2 separate regions of the Homo sapiens genome follow, and region 2 is linked to region 1. Evidence: promoter capture Hi-C in 16 types of primary human blood cells and fetal thymus (Javierre and others, 2016). All regions are on one chromosome and are shown on one strand. The core of a region is centred on a gene start or on the middle of the fragment in contact, and the rest is flanking DNA. Distances in the headings are between cores, read along the strand shown. Region 1 holds the start of CCDC186 (coiled-coil domain containing 186). Region 2 holds the start of PLEKHS1 (pleckstrin homology domain containing S1).

Region 1 (7,364 bases), core at 1,721-4,220:
AAAAAGGAAGGCTCTCAGGCCTTCCTTTACAGGTGGCTCACACCTGTAATCCCAGCACTTTGGGAGGCCTAGATGGGAGGATCAAATGAGGCCAGGAATTAAGAGAACAGCCTGGGAAACATAGCAAGACCTGGTCTATAAAAAATAATAATATATAATTTTTAATTAAAAAGATTAGTATGGTGGCCTGTGCCTGTTGTCCTAGCTACTCAGGAGGCTAAGGCAGGAGGATTGCTTGAGACCAGGAGTTCAAGGCTACAGTGAATTATGATCATACCACTATACTCCAGCCTGGGTGACAGATTGAGATCTTGTCTCAAAAAACTAAACAAAATGAAGCCTAGTATCTTTAAAAAAAATTTTTTTTCAAGTTATAAGCCTGCATTACATTAAAAAGTTTGGGTTAATGTTTAAATTTTGAAGACACCTTTGGCCAGAGTTGGTTAATTTGGTATGCTCTACTTTATTAAAAACATGAACTGATAGTCTACCGTGGGATTATGTAGTAAGTGCGGTAGACATTACATAGTCTACATAATCCCACAATTATCAGTTCAAGTGTCTTAATGATAGACAAATGTTAATAAGAAATACACTCACAATCCAATCAAAACTATGCTGGTGCTGATTTCCACTTTGTGTCTACTGTCCCTTCATCTCAGTATTTTTCCTTTTTCTTACTTTTTAGCCCAAATACATTTTTTAAATCTCAGTAGCTAAGAAAGTTCAAAGCAGTTTGAAACAATAGATTAAATTATCTATGATCTCACTGCTGCCCCTAAAATGAATACTAAGTATAACATTTGCAATACTGTAAACTCAGTGATATGTTTATGAGAAATTGAAAAACCAGCTTTAGTTATTTTAAGGTAGAGATAAAAGAAAAACCTAAGTTTTACTAAAAGAAAAAAAATTTCAGGGTAAGGATTCTTACTTTAACACGAAACTGTTGCATGAATTTGAGAAACTAGTGCAGATTACCAGTCCTTCTTCAAAGGGAAAGATTATTTTCTAAATCTCCAAATAAAGCTGCTTTGTGCTTCAACCTACTGTCTCTTCCTGGAGTCAGTATACTGCAATGCTTTTATCTTCACTCTGTGATGTCAGCATAAAGCTGCAAATAGATGTTTCTAAACTGAACATACTAAGCAATCATTAGCTATGCTGTCACTGCATAGCATTAAAGGACAACTCTACTTTATGGGTGAAAGAACTAAAAGGTTAGAGTGGTCACTGTGATACACACCAGCCAACCCTTTCCGTTAGCAATAAATAGGACTCAAAAGCCAATGACACACTATGGAATCTCCACTGTTTAAAGAAACCTTAAGTTTATATGCAGTTATTCTGAATTTAACAGGGCCTTTAAAAAACAAACACAATCCATGCATTTCCAGGGAGAATCTTCAGTAATCATACGTTTGCCTATTATGCTGTAAAAAGTTTTAATTCTTAATACTGCAAGATTCGTGATCTAATATCTTCACTGCATTAAAAATAACATGAAAAGACCAGAAATAAAAGAGAAAAATGAACCTAGCCAATCATTACTGTTTTTTATTTGTGTAATGTTGGATAAAGAATTGAAGTTACACAGGGAACAGTGTACATTACACACAGAGATAGTTCAGTTTCACTATCAATCTCTCTTGAACCTGAATCCTTCCCACGAGATGAACACTCGGTAAATATTAAGGTGTACTTGATAGTTGGGAAAGCCACACCCACAACTAGCATACCTAAATAGATAATAGCAGATTAATTTCTTCTGAATGACTACCAGCACACCTCTTGAAACCCTGATTTACTGAACACCTTAGAAGACAACACCCGGCCTATCGTTTTGGAAGAAAAAAAAGCTGGGCATCAAAGGAACATGACACACATGCAGAGAAAACGGCCAAGTACCTGGGACTGTACTGCGTATTTTTACTATATTCTCTCTTCTGATTTCCACAGGTAACAAGATTATCAAGTGAAAGAAGTAGGATTCTAATCCAGATGTTCTGACTCGAAATCCAGGACTTTTTCCTCTAAACAAAATCAAGATGGGAATATTAGGTGAAGTTGTTAAACTGTTAACAGCTAAGCAATACTCACACCTGCACTGTTTCCCAAGATTGCTACTTAGGGACACGTAGAAGGGTTTTTGTTTTGTTTTTGCCATTTTTCATTACTGATGGAGACATAAATCTGAAACCCCTTCCTTACCAACCAAGGTTTATGAAATGCCTTGACGTCCTTGAAAGACAACATAAAGAACAGTATCCACCACTCCAAAGAATCACTTCTAAGGAACTTAGAATCACAGTAATGGAAGTGTTTGGAAGAGGGTAACAAGTCTTCACAACAGTAAATATAAAACACCCACATACAGTCAACTTGAGACGAAAAACGAAATAGGCGATTGAGTCTAGGAAAGATTCTCGAGCAGGTAGGGCTTGGCTGCAGTTCACACGCAGCCCAGGCAATGGGCTCGAATTCAGACGCTCTCGAGGCACAGCCCCCACGACCCCCGCTGACCCCTCTTTGCCACCTCCAAGGTCCCGGAACCGAAGGAGGAAGGCAGGGAGAGGAAAGGGCTTGAAACCCGTTCCCCAGCCCTCCCCTTCCTCCGCGCCCTCAAAGGAGCCAGGCGGGGAGCCCGCTCGACCTCGACCTCCACCTCGCACTCGCCCTCGCCCCCGCCACGGAACGTGCAGGAAGGAGCGGAAGGCTGGCAGCCCCACCGCACCGCCACCGCGACTCACCGGTGTGCCCCGAGTACCCCTCAGACACTTACCCCACTTATCCAAGCCTCAGGCCACGCCCTAACAAGGCTGCTGGAGCTCTGGCTCAGGGGCCAACTTTTCCATAGCGGGGTCCAACCAGCCAAGAGTGGGAGGAAAAGACCGCGGTGAGAAACACAGCCGACGCCTCACTCAGCGGCCGTTTCCCCAAACCCCTGCGGAGCTGACACATCAACAAAGATGGCGGCGACACTGAAGCCGGCCCGGTTACAGCTGAGGGGGCGGGGGCTCCCTGGAGGAACCAATCAGCGCAGCGCGGGCGGGGTGACGCAGCACACCTTGAGGTCCTGGGTAACCTGTCTGCAGTGGGCTGGGCTGGCGGAGCTCACCTCCCACCTCCCGGCCCAGGAGGCCCCACCTTGCGGCCCGAGAGGCCCCGCCCCGCACTCCGCCTGGCTGGGCACCCACGCCTCCGCGACCTGGAGAGCCGGGTCTCCTGCCCTTTGGTCGGGTTCTTCCTTTCAAGCTCCTCCGGACCCACGCAGCCTGTTTCTTTCTGCAGGACGCTCTTGTTGGCTATTACTCCTCCTCACCCTTTGGCCTGCATGAGTCAGGGACATAAAGCAATAAAAGAGAATTTGAAATTGTGGCTTCCCGGCTCTCATGCGGAAACCTTGCACCTTACGTGGGCGGAGTCGGCTGGAGCAGGCTACGATGGGGGAGACCTCTGGGGGTTCCATAACAGCGCGTTCGTGTCTTCAGCGTGGCGCTGCTGCCATTGTTTAATAATAAACTGTCGGTGCCTTCGTCTCTGGCTTCAAGCTGAGCGCATTGATGGTAGGAAGTGTCCTCTCCCGGCTGAGTAACCTGGCACGCAGCATGGCAACAAAAAGTGTATTGGGTACAGTTGCCTCGCCCGGCCCAGAGAAGGAAGGTCAGCAGTTCAGTCTCTGGAGGTTTCGCAAACCTCCTCAGTCCGGGGAAACGATGTTCTTTGGTTTAGGTCTTACACATATCTCATGAATGAAAATAGCTGATGCAGACGATTCTGCAATGTAAGAATTTGTAAAGCAAAACTTACTACTGTTCTGTTAAGCGTCTTCGATACTGTTGGCAAAACACACACACGGAGGTGTAATGGCACCTCACTCCTCCTTAAATGAAGGTACTACACTGAAGCACATTTTGCAGTTAAAGTGTCTTGTCATAGAAAATAAATGATTTGACTTTAAAACAATAAATCGACCAAGCCTTCCTAGGGAGACATTAATCCAAGGGGAAAAAACTGAAGAAACCTTAAGCTGTTTTCGGTACTCGTCAGTAATAACATAGGTATTACTATTTCTGAATATTTCTGAATTTATAATTAGTATAAAGTATATAAATATATCTTTGTGAACCAAGTTTTTCACCATAAGAGAAAAGAAATACAAATATAAACCAAAGACATTATATTAAAATTCTGCAATCCTATATTTGAATTTACAAATATCAGAATTAACTCATGGTACATTTTTTTCGTGAAAAAAAAGGTGTGTCCACTGAAAACTCTTAGAACAGTGACCAACCCATTGCACACTCCTATTCCCCAGATTGTGATCTCTAAAGAGCATTGCCCAAAAAAAGTTACCTTGGCTTCTCTTGGAGGTTAAGTGCTGATTCCCAGTAGGGGCAAGAAATATGCAAGATAGCCTAGGACATATTGCTTGTAGCAGAAAGCAAGGAAGAAAAGCAAAGATAACATGAACTGTACCCAAAAGACTCAGAAGGCAGTTCAAAGATGCCCCAACTTCTCAAACAGGACAAATTTAGCATTCAAAAATAATAACAGCAACTGGTTGAGACGCACTATGTAAAAAAATCAGTGAGTGCATTTATTTTTTTTAATGTCATTGACCCTCTTGGAAAGATGCCAACAAGTCATTACAATCTGAGAACTGATAAAGAATCAAGCATTCATCCTACCTTTCCTGTTGCAAACTGAATGTCAATCAAATAGTCAATGTGGGGAAGCTCTTCTCTGTAGAACTCCATGTAATAATTGCAGAAAGAAAGATAGATGATCACCATTTTGCAAACCCTGATGAAATAATGGATCTAGGTAATGGTCATCTGTGAATCTAGAACCATTAGATGAAAAACTGATAGGAAGCTTCGTATTGTAATGGATGGATGGGGCTGGCACCACTTGAACCTACTAGATCAATCTTAATATCCTCCAAAGTGAAACAACTACATACTATGTATTTTCTGAAATGCTACAATAGAGAAGCACAACACCACCTGTGAAGTATTCCTGCCGGGGGATGCAATCAACAAAATTGAATGGAAAAAAAAAAAAACCCTGCAGTTACTGTAATAAATAAATTGCAAGAGAAGTACAGGATTTAAAGAGAAACCCCTTTTTAAAATATATCACTGAGTGCAAATACAGGATGTTTTGATACTGATTTGAACATATCAACGATTTAAGATAACATCTGAATGGCTGGGTGTGGTGGCTCACACCTGTAATCCCAGCCCTTTGGGAGGCCAAGGTGGGCTGCTTGAGCTCAGGAGTTTGAGACCAGCCTGGACAACACAGTGGGATCCCATCTCTAAAAAGAAAATTAAAAAATAACATTTGAGGTATCTGGAAATGTTTAGTATTAATTTTATGATATTAAGAAATTATGGCCAGGCACTATGGCTCACACTTGTAATCCCAGCTACTGAGGCAGGGTGATGGCTTGAGTCCAGCAGTTCAGGACTGCAGTGAACTATGACTGTGCCACTGCACTCTAGTCTGGGCGGCAGAGCAAGACCCTTTCAGAAAGAAAGGAAAGGAGAGGAAAGGAGAAAAAGGAGAAAAGAAAGGAAAGCAAGAGAAATTATTGTTTTTAAAGTTGGGATATGTTTTGGTGATATTACTTAAAAAGTGGTAATCTCTTAAAGACACCTACTTACAATATTTTTGGATGAAAAGATACAATATCCCAGAAAGTAATAAAGTGCTTAACAAACAAAATACCACCTGATGATAGTATGTGAAGGAACAGAAACCAACTGAAAGAGCTTCCTGTGGCCAAAGCTGGAAAAATCTGAGCAAGGAAATACAGTAGTTTTGGATTAGAAAAGTATAAAATAAGAAAAAAAAAGTATAAAATAAATATCCGAGTCCGTTATTAAATTAGTAAATGGAGAAGAGACAAATCTCCCATGCAGAAGAATTTCAAATAATTTCTGCAGATACTGCATCCTCAAAGAGGGACAACATAACTCCCTACTCCTTAAATGTGGGCTTCAAATAATAGCTTCCTTCCAAAGTGTATAGTATGAAAAGGGAAGGGAAAAAAAAGAATATAGTAGAAAGACCCAACAAACACTACCACAGCCAGATGACCAAATCCTACATCAATTGTCATAATCATATTCATAGGATGTATGCTTGATATGATGCAATAAAAATGGCATTTTTACCTCTGTGGTCTTCCTTCCAATAACCCGTAACTCCTTTCCTACCAGCAGAAAAACATCAGACAAATTCCAAAAGTAGGGCATCCTACAAAAGGCCTGAGAGTACTCCTGGAAACTTGACATCAAGGTCATCAAAACAAAGTCTAAGGAAGTCCCATGGCCAAGAAGAGCCTAAGGATCCATGAAAACTAAATGTAATATGATATCCTGATGAGATCTTGCATCAGAAAAGGGACAGTAGGTAAAAACGAAGGAAATCAAAAAGATGGGCTTTAGTTAATACTGTATCAATGTTGGTTCCTTGGTTCCTTAATTATAACAAATGTATCATGCTAACAGACCATGCTAATAATAGGGGAAACGATGTGGCTTCTGTCAGAACTCTGTACAGCACCTTCTTTTCTTTCTTTCTTTTTCTTTTTTTTTTTTTTTTTGAGACAGTCTTGCTCTGTTGCCCAGGCTGGAGTGCAGTGGCAGTGATCTTGGCTCGGTGAAACCTCCGCCTCCTGGGTGCAGGCGATTCTCCTGCCTTAGTTTCCCAAGTAGCTGGGATTACAGGCGCCTGCCACCACACCCAGCTAATTTTTTTTTATTTTTTTATTTTAAGTAGAGACGGGGTTTCACCATGTTGGCCAGGCTGGTCTCGAACTCCAGACCTCAAGTGATCTGCCTGCCTCGGCCTCCCAAAGTGCTGGGATTACAGGCATGAGCCCCCACGCCCAGTCAGCACTTTCATTTCACTATTCTGTAAATCTGAAACTGCTCTAAAAAATAAATTTAAAAGACACATCAACTAAAGAAAAAAAATCAGGCTTTTAAAGAATTGAAGTTAGTGAAGTTAGTTTTATTCAGAGTCTTACTGAGGACTGCAACCAGGGAGAGCCCAGAGAATTTCTGTTAAACTACTCCAAAGCAGTGGGTCAGCACACTTTAAATATTAGGTGGTAGAGGTTCTGCCCAGGGGTTACATTAAAAGTGCCCAGAAGCTATATAAGATCAAAATATTTTCAAAGTTTGGGTGCGAGAGTAAGTCTAGGCATCATCATTAATCTTGTCCGTTAGGTACAGAAAAAGGCAAGGCCTAGATCTCTGAAAGTATCTTTTCTAAAAATGCAGTGACTCTGAGAGGTGGGAACCTGAGTTCTCTCCGCAGTCTTCAAGGCATTCTTCTGGAGGGCT
Region 2 (7,364 bases), core at 1,496-3,995, 420 kb before region 1:
AGGACTCACATAGTGTAGCATATGAAAGAACACACACAGGCTTCGGAGTCAAGACAGACCAGTCTGATTTCTGTGTGTCACTTACTAGCTGCATGATCCTTAGCTAGTTATTTAATCTCTCTAAATTTAAATTTCCTCTTTTAAAATTAGGATTAATAGATTTTATCCTGCAACAAGGTAGAATTAAATGAGATATTCTATGTAAAACAAAAATCCCCAATAAGTAGTAGGTATTGCCATGCCATATAAACTGTTCGGTTGTGTTTTGGTTAAGAGGCAGCAGAACTCAAGAGCATCTTCATGACAGGAAAGCGCAATTAACAAAGTCATGGAATAACTCATCTGATATTTCAGATGAACAGGCGATTGCTTTTTGTGACAGGTAATTGATACCTTGTTTACAGGTCATTGGAAACAACTTTTAAAAACCTATGCTTGGCCGGGCGCGGTGGCTCACGCCTGTAATCCCAGCACTTTGGGAGGCCGAGGCGGGCGGATCACGAGGTCAGGAGATCGAGACCATCCTGGCTAACACGGTGAAACCCCGTCTCTGCTAAAAATACAAAAAATTAGCCGGGCGTGGTAGCGGGCGCCTGTAGTCCCAGCTACTCGGGAGGCTGAGGCAGGAGAATGGCGTGAACCCGGGAGGCGGAGCTTGCAGTGAGCCGAGATCGCGCCACTGCACTCCAGCCTGGGCGACAGAGCTAGACTCCGTCTCAAAAAAAAAAAAAAAAAAAAAAAACCTATGCTTGTGTTTCATAGGTATGTTTGTTTTGCAAGTTTAGTATTTGGTGTCTGTGCCAGTTTTTGTTTGCTTTTCAGTTTATATTTCATGGGTTTATCTACAGTACAAATAGCTTTGTTAGGCTTCTTCCTCCAAAGAGTTTTGTAATACTATTGGAAAAATAATACAAAAAAGCCTAGAATAGGGTGGGTTGGATGGGTGGGTAGGTGGAGGGACAGACAGATGAACAGGTTGCTGATGGAAAGCACATCTAACTGTTTCATCGGTATCCTTTCCAAAGGAACACAAGTCTTACAGTAATTTTCCCTCTTCCCCTTTTTGGTTAGGTCTCTATATTATAACAATAGGCTGTCTGGACTTTATAGTTCCCAAGTAAGTGGAAATCAGCACAAGCTTTTTATGAACTACTTAGAGCTACAACTGGTATCTGATTAAAATTCTAATGTAAAGACATTAAGACTATCTCCAGAATTATCAAAAGTTAGCCCAAAAGAACATCCAGGAAATTCTGTTAGGTCTATCTCTGTCTTGTTATAAAGAAATACCTGAGATTTGATAATTTATAAAGAAAAGAGGTTTAATTGGCCCATGGTTCTGCAAGCTGTACAGGAAGCATAGTCCTGGCATCTCTCAGCTTCTGAGAAGACCTCAGGGGGCTTTCTTTTACGCATGGTGGAAGGTGAGGCGGGAGTAGCCATGTCACCTGGTGGGAGTGGGAGCAGTAGAGTTGGGGGAGATGCCACACACTTTTAAATAAAGACCTCAGTACAACTCACTATCTCAGACACAGAACCAAGCCATGAGGGATCCACCCCCAGGACCCAACACCTCCAGCCAGACTCCACCTCCATCACTGGGGATTACATCTCAACATGAGATTTGGAGGGGACATCCAAACTATATCAAAATTAAGAAATTGTTTTTCCTAAATCAAGCAAAACTGGTCCTGTGCAGGAAGCAAACAATATATCAATAATTTCTGTATGCCTGAAGTCCAGCTAGGTTTGCTAAATGAAGAAACCAATAACATCTACCCTCCATAGGATGCAAAAGAGAAAAACAAAGAAATACCCTCTGTTGAATGCTAACTGTGGATAAAGCACTGTGCTAGATGCTTTTTATATGTGAAATTTTACTTAACTTTAAAAAAAAATCCTGTGAAGTCAGTATTATCTGTTCCATTTTGCAGATGAGGAAACAGACTCAGAGAACTCCAGTTAACTTGCCAAGACCACACAATGGATCCATGGCAGAGCTGATTCCAGACCAGCTACCCTCGTGAGGATGAGGATTCAAATGATGTACTTTTACTTCTAAAGGCAGTAGAACAGGATAAAATTCATCATCACTTCTTCCTCTCCCCTAGAAATCTGTAATACACATGAAAATATACCTAAGACCCTTTGGTGGCTGGATACCACTCACCAGGTCTAAGAATGATGGTTTGCTCAATTGCTGTTGGTGGCTGTGCAGGGGAACATGCCTAGCGCCACCCTGTTGATGGTAACACTCTGTCATGGCTGAATGAGCAACTCTTCCTGGAAACCATTGGCATGTACAAGTGTTTAGAGAAGCCAGGCTTTTGTTTCCTCATCTGGTACAAAGGAACCCTTTCTACCCTTCCCAGGAAGACATTGGTTAAGATATGGCTGAGGGAGGCATAGGGATTTTTTTTCAATGGTAGTCACCACAGACGGTTGAGGGTAAATTGGCGTTGTTCTCAATAAGGGTTATTGTGACCATGGTCCAAAGTCTGGCAGGAATTTTTTTTTATTATTAATGTGTTTGCTTTCATTTTTGGTGCTAGGCAGCTGGGACACCAAGGAGAGTTCTGTGGCAAGCCACAAGTATGAAGGCCCAGAACTTCCCCTGAGGGCATAGCTTCCATTTCAGTTTGGGGCAAGAATAAAATCTGCTCAAGGATATTAGTTTGGGAACTTCCTGGTGGTTCAGATTTCAAGCAGAGTTTGTGCTTAATCCTCACCCAGGCACCAAGGCTCAGAGTCAGCAGGAGTGAGTTCAGGAATCCTCGGGACAAGGCACTTTCCTGAGCACTGGACCAGCGACCTCTTGGCTTCCAGTAAGTACTGCTTGGTGTATCTGGTTTGGACTTCCAAGGCTGGGATGATCTAGAAGCTTTTTTGCAATTGAACAATTGCAAAATTGGAAATGGAAAATTTTGCAGATATGCTGTATTTCTGTTATGGGCACTTTCTTCATAAGCTTCCTAGGCTATACTATAGTCAGAGGGAAATAGGACTGACCTCTTGGTATACTGTATTCACCAAATCCAAAATAATGTTATAATAAATGGGTCAGGCAGTGACTGTGGGGAGATTCTCCTGAATGAGATCAAACAGCTAAATCAGAAAGGCTTTCTTTTTTGTTTGGGGGCAATGACAAGAAAAACAAGCAGAACTATGAAAAGACTTAATTCTACTTTCTTAGATAGGAGGAAAAGCAAAGTAGTTAAGGCCAGCTCTCAAGCTAGAATTCTGGTTCTGCTTCTTTTTAATTACATGATCAAAGTAAAGTTGTTTAATCTCTCCGATAACCATTTCCTCGTCTGTAAATGGGCATTGTATCATTGTGAAAACAGTGCAAGCTTTAGAGTACGGTTATGAGGTTAGGATGAGATTTTATATGTATATGTGAAATTATATGTATACATATACATAAAATCTTTCATATACATATTGCTTAGAAGTGCCTGGAATGTATTAAGTACTCAAAAAATGCTACCCATTATTAAACAACCATAGAATCATAGAATATCTGAGCTGGAAAGGACCTAACAACTAGCATTTATTGAGCTTCTATTATGTACTGAGGAGTGCTCATCAACAGGGTATCTCAAGTGATACTCCCAGCAATCTGATGAGGGTAGTAATAACCTTCATGTTACAGATGAAGAAATGGAGGTGTAGAGAAGTATTATAAAGTATCCAAGATCACATTCCTCATAATTCATGGAGATGAAATTTAAACCCAGATGCCAGAGCTAACACTCTAAACCACCACACCCTACTGCCTTATCTGTCCTCTCATTTTACGGTGGGTGGGGAGATGAAGGAGGAATGGTTGCAGCACATGACTCTGGAGCCCTTTGCAGACACTGGAAGGACAGAGATGTCCTCCAAAGCACACTTTGACATCCACAGGGCACAGGGAGGGCAAATGTTATTTGGGAGTGTCCATGAGCATGAATGTGGTGCTGTGTGGAGTTCTGCCAGGGGACCTAGGTCCAAGTCATCTCAGTCTTCTCTCAAATGCAGCTTTTCATTTGTAAAATGAGCTATCTCAGAATGAAGCCATTCTGAACACAAAAAAATAATGTATGCAAATGCATTTTATAAACTTTAAAGGCTTTAGAAATATTTTTTAAAATGATTTTTTGGCTTTTTGACAAACAGCAGCTCAAAAACAGCTTGCAGTAAACACTGCTTTAAAATATGCCACCCACAGCTAATCTCTCCTGCACATTTCTCCGATTGGATCCTTGAGGGCCATCACTCATTAGGCTAACAGCTGCATAGGGGGCGTGGCCAAGTCCTATAAACATGGACAGAGGGAAAGGTGATGGGTTGAAAACCGCTTGTCCCCAGCTCTTCAGGCAGTGAAATCCTTGAAACTGGAAAGAACCTCATGGATTTGATAAGAAATCTCAGGGATAATTTTTTAAATATTATCCATGCATTTTGGGGAGTGGGCAAGGTTTTGAAGAGGTTACGTTCTCTTTCTCACACAGAATTGCTCTTCCAGGAAACAACAGCCTTCGGCCTCAATAGCTTGGCATCTTTCCCAGGCATTATAGCTCATTGCACAGAGCTGAGTGTGCCCGCTACAGCAGGCGAGGGCTAAGGGCACCGGTTCTTCAACATATGCCTTCAGATGCCCGAGAAAAGTTGTAATTTGTTCAAATGATCACTACTGTGATTATACAGGATACCTCAAGGGAGAAAATCTTTCCCTAGGGGCAGGGTAGGTATGATTCCAGGGTCCAGGAAAGCCATCCCACTGGTCTTCAAAGAGCTTCCAAATGCTCTGACAAACCACCAAAAGCATATCTTAGAACTTGTCTTAATCTTAGGATTTTCATCTCTGAACACATATATATATATATTTGTATTATATATTTTTTTTATTTGAGATGGAGTCTTGCTCTATCACGCAGGCTGGAGTGCAGTAATGTGATCTCGGCTCACTACCTCTGCCTTCTGGGTTCATGTGATTCTTCTGCCTCAGCCTCCCAAGTAGCTGGGATTACAGGTGCCCGCCACCACGCTCGGCCAATTTTTGTACTTTTAGTAGAGATGGGGTTTTGCCATGTTGGCCAGGCTGGTCTGGAATTCCTGACCTCAAACAATCCGCCCACCTCAACCTCCCAAAGTACTGGGATTACAGGCATGAGCCACTGCACCCAGCCTGAATATATGTATTTTTTCATCTCTGTATATGCATATACACACACGTAATTAAAGAATTGCTGTAAGTCATCTACATGTTAGGAAGGAAGAATGAGTTTATGTTGAAGAAAGGGAGAGGTCAGGAGGGTCAAGGGCCTCTGCTTCCTCCCCCATCTTACTTGGGGCTGCTTGGGCACCTCCCTTTTCAGGGCCTTCTATTTTGAGAGTCTTACTAACTTAAGGTAAAAGTTAGTCATACCAAATTTGTGGTTTCAAAGACCTCACTTGCCCTGCAGCCCTTCCCCTGAGGGAGTCCCTTCTCTCCATCCTATGATGGTCATAGGATCGCCAGCAGCTGGCCAGGAAAGGATGCTGCCTCTCAGATTCAGTTTCTCCAGGTTATCCTCAGGAGTCTTGCTCTGTCGCCCAGGCTGGAGTGCAGTGGAGTGATCTCGGCTCACTGCAACCTCCGCCTCCCGGGTTCAAGCGACTCTCCTACCTCAGCCTCCTGAGGGATTACAGGCGAGCACTAGGATTACAGGTGCCCACCACCACACCCGGCTAATTTTTGTATTTTTAGTAGAGATGGGGTTTCACCATGTTGGTCAGGCTGGTCTCGAACTCCTGACCTCATGATCTACCCGCCTCAGCCTCCCAAAGTGCTGGGATTACAGGCATGAGCCACCGTGCCTGGCGGTCCTTGTTCTTAAGTTTCCCCTGGAGAAAGCAAGCCCCTGGGCATGGAGAAAGGCTTATCTTGGGCTTCCTCTCAGCCAGTGATGCTTTCTCGGCTACGTTGGCTCCATGGCATCCTGCCCTTTGCCCTGTTCTTATCTCTCCTTTGTGTTGCCATCCGCCAGCTCTCTTATCAAAGCAGTAAGAACAGAGAAAATCCCAGGAAGACAAGCTCCTTCAGTCTTCTCAACAACACCTCCGCAGAACCACCCACTGTGTGAGGACAAGCTGCTTAGATGTGTCCCCGTTACTGCAGCTACCGTCAGCCTCAGGAACAGGGAGGGAAATACTAAAGAAAGGATGGGAATGGGAGACTCACAACCCATCTCAGCAACATTCGTGAGCACAATCCTGATACTCACTGACCAGCGGTGGCTGGTCAATGAAACACACGTAGTGTTGTTTGGGGACTAACACTAACCCTTCCTTTTGACAGGGGAGGACACACAGCCATCATGGAACCCAAACCTCAGAAGAGTCCAGGTACCCGAGGGGTATAATCGCAGAAGCAGAAATCTTTTTATTGAAAATGCCCCACGGTTTCCTTCAAGCTAACCAGGATACAGAACTTGGTGGTTTTTGTGTATGTTGTTTTGTTTTGTTTTGTTTGAGACAGTCTTGCTCTGTTGCGTAGGCTGGAGTACAGTGGCACGATCTAAGCTCACTGCAACCTGCCAGCTCAAGTGATCCTCTAACCTCAGCCTCCCGAGGAGCTGGCACTACAGGCATATGCCACCATGCCTGCCTAATTTTCGTATTTTTAGTAGAGACGGGGTTTCTCCATGTTGGTCAGGCTGGTCTCAAACTCCCGGCCTAGGTGATTCCCCACCTCTCAGCCTCCCAAAGTGCTGAGATTACAGGCATAAGCCACCATGTACAGCCCCAGAACCCAGGTGGGGATAATGGGTGGCATTCTGTGACAATGATTCTTGGTTTGGAGAATGTAGCAGGAACTGTTGGATTCAATTAATTATTGTGTAAGAGTTTACCTGTCTAGAAGTTTAGCATTTTCTGATTTTCATGAGCCAAATTTTCCATTCATTGCCCAAAGATGATGTTAATAGCAAACTATGGGCCAGCAAAGACTGGAGAACATTTTCTTAATTTTACGTGAAACTCACACTTAGAGAAGTGCCTGCATTGTCACCAGGGCTTATTATGAGGGTAGCTCAATGTATGGTATCAAGTATCCTTGCTCTTATTCATACACTTCTTTGTAGATGAGTGGATAGAAAAGCTAAGTTTAGGATGAAGTCACTTAGAAGTTAAATTATCCAATTCAACTCAAAAATGTTTACAAAGCACCTATTACTAGTGAGTCTTTGTGCTTTATGTTGCAGGGGATATACAGATTAATAAATAAGAGTCATTGCCCTCAAAGAGTTTTAAAATGTTGTTGGTGGGAGGCTGAGGCAGGTGGATCACTTGAGATCAGGAGTTTGAGGCCAGCTTGGCCAACATGGTGAAACCTCGTCTCT

What was found. Contacts are between HindIII fragments. The CHiCAGO score rates a contact against its expected background, and 5 or more counts as called.
Region 2: the fragment with the promoter of PLEKHS1 here is called in contact with the fragment with the promoter of CCDC186 in region 1 in 6 of 17 cell types (M1 macrophages, megakaryocytes, M2 macrophages and 3 more); the score reaches 7.0 in M1 macrophages.

The regions. Positions count from the first base shown.
Region 1 is chr10:114,171,233-114,178,596 of GRCh38, forward strand. CCDC186 (coiled-coil domain containing 186) reads right to left here and starts at 2,971. Exons shown (of 16, transcript NM_018017.4): 1 at 2,783-2,971. It overlaps MIR2110 (microRNA 2110), which reads right to left and starts at 2,947; the gene lies at 2,873-2,947. It also overlaps a transcript of TDRD1 not described here. RefSeq lists enhancers at 2,653-3,181, 2,777-2,976 and a silencer at 3,037-3,306. The HindIII fragment of the contact is 5,809 bases long and covers 1-4,879 here.
Region 2 is chr10:113,748,937-113,756,300 of GRCh38, forward strand. PLEKHS1 (pleckstrin homology domain containing S1) reads left to right here and starts at 2,746. Exons shown (of 13, transcript NM_001395068.1): 1 at 2,746-2,825; 2 at 6,323-6,369. The coding sequence starts at 6,342. The HindIII fragment of the contact is 1,743 bases long and covers 1,137-2,879 here.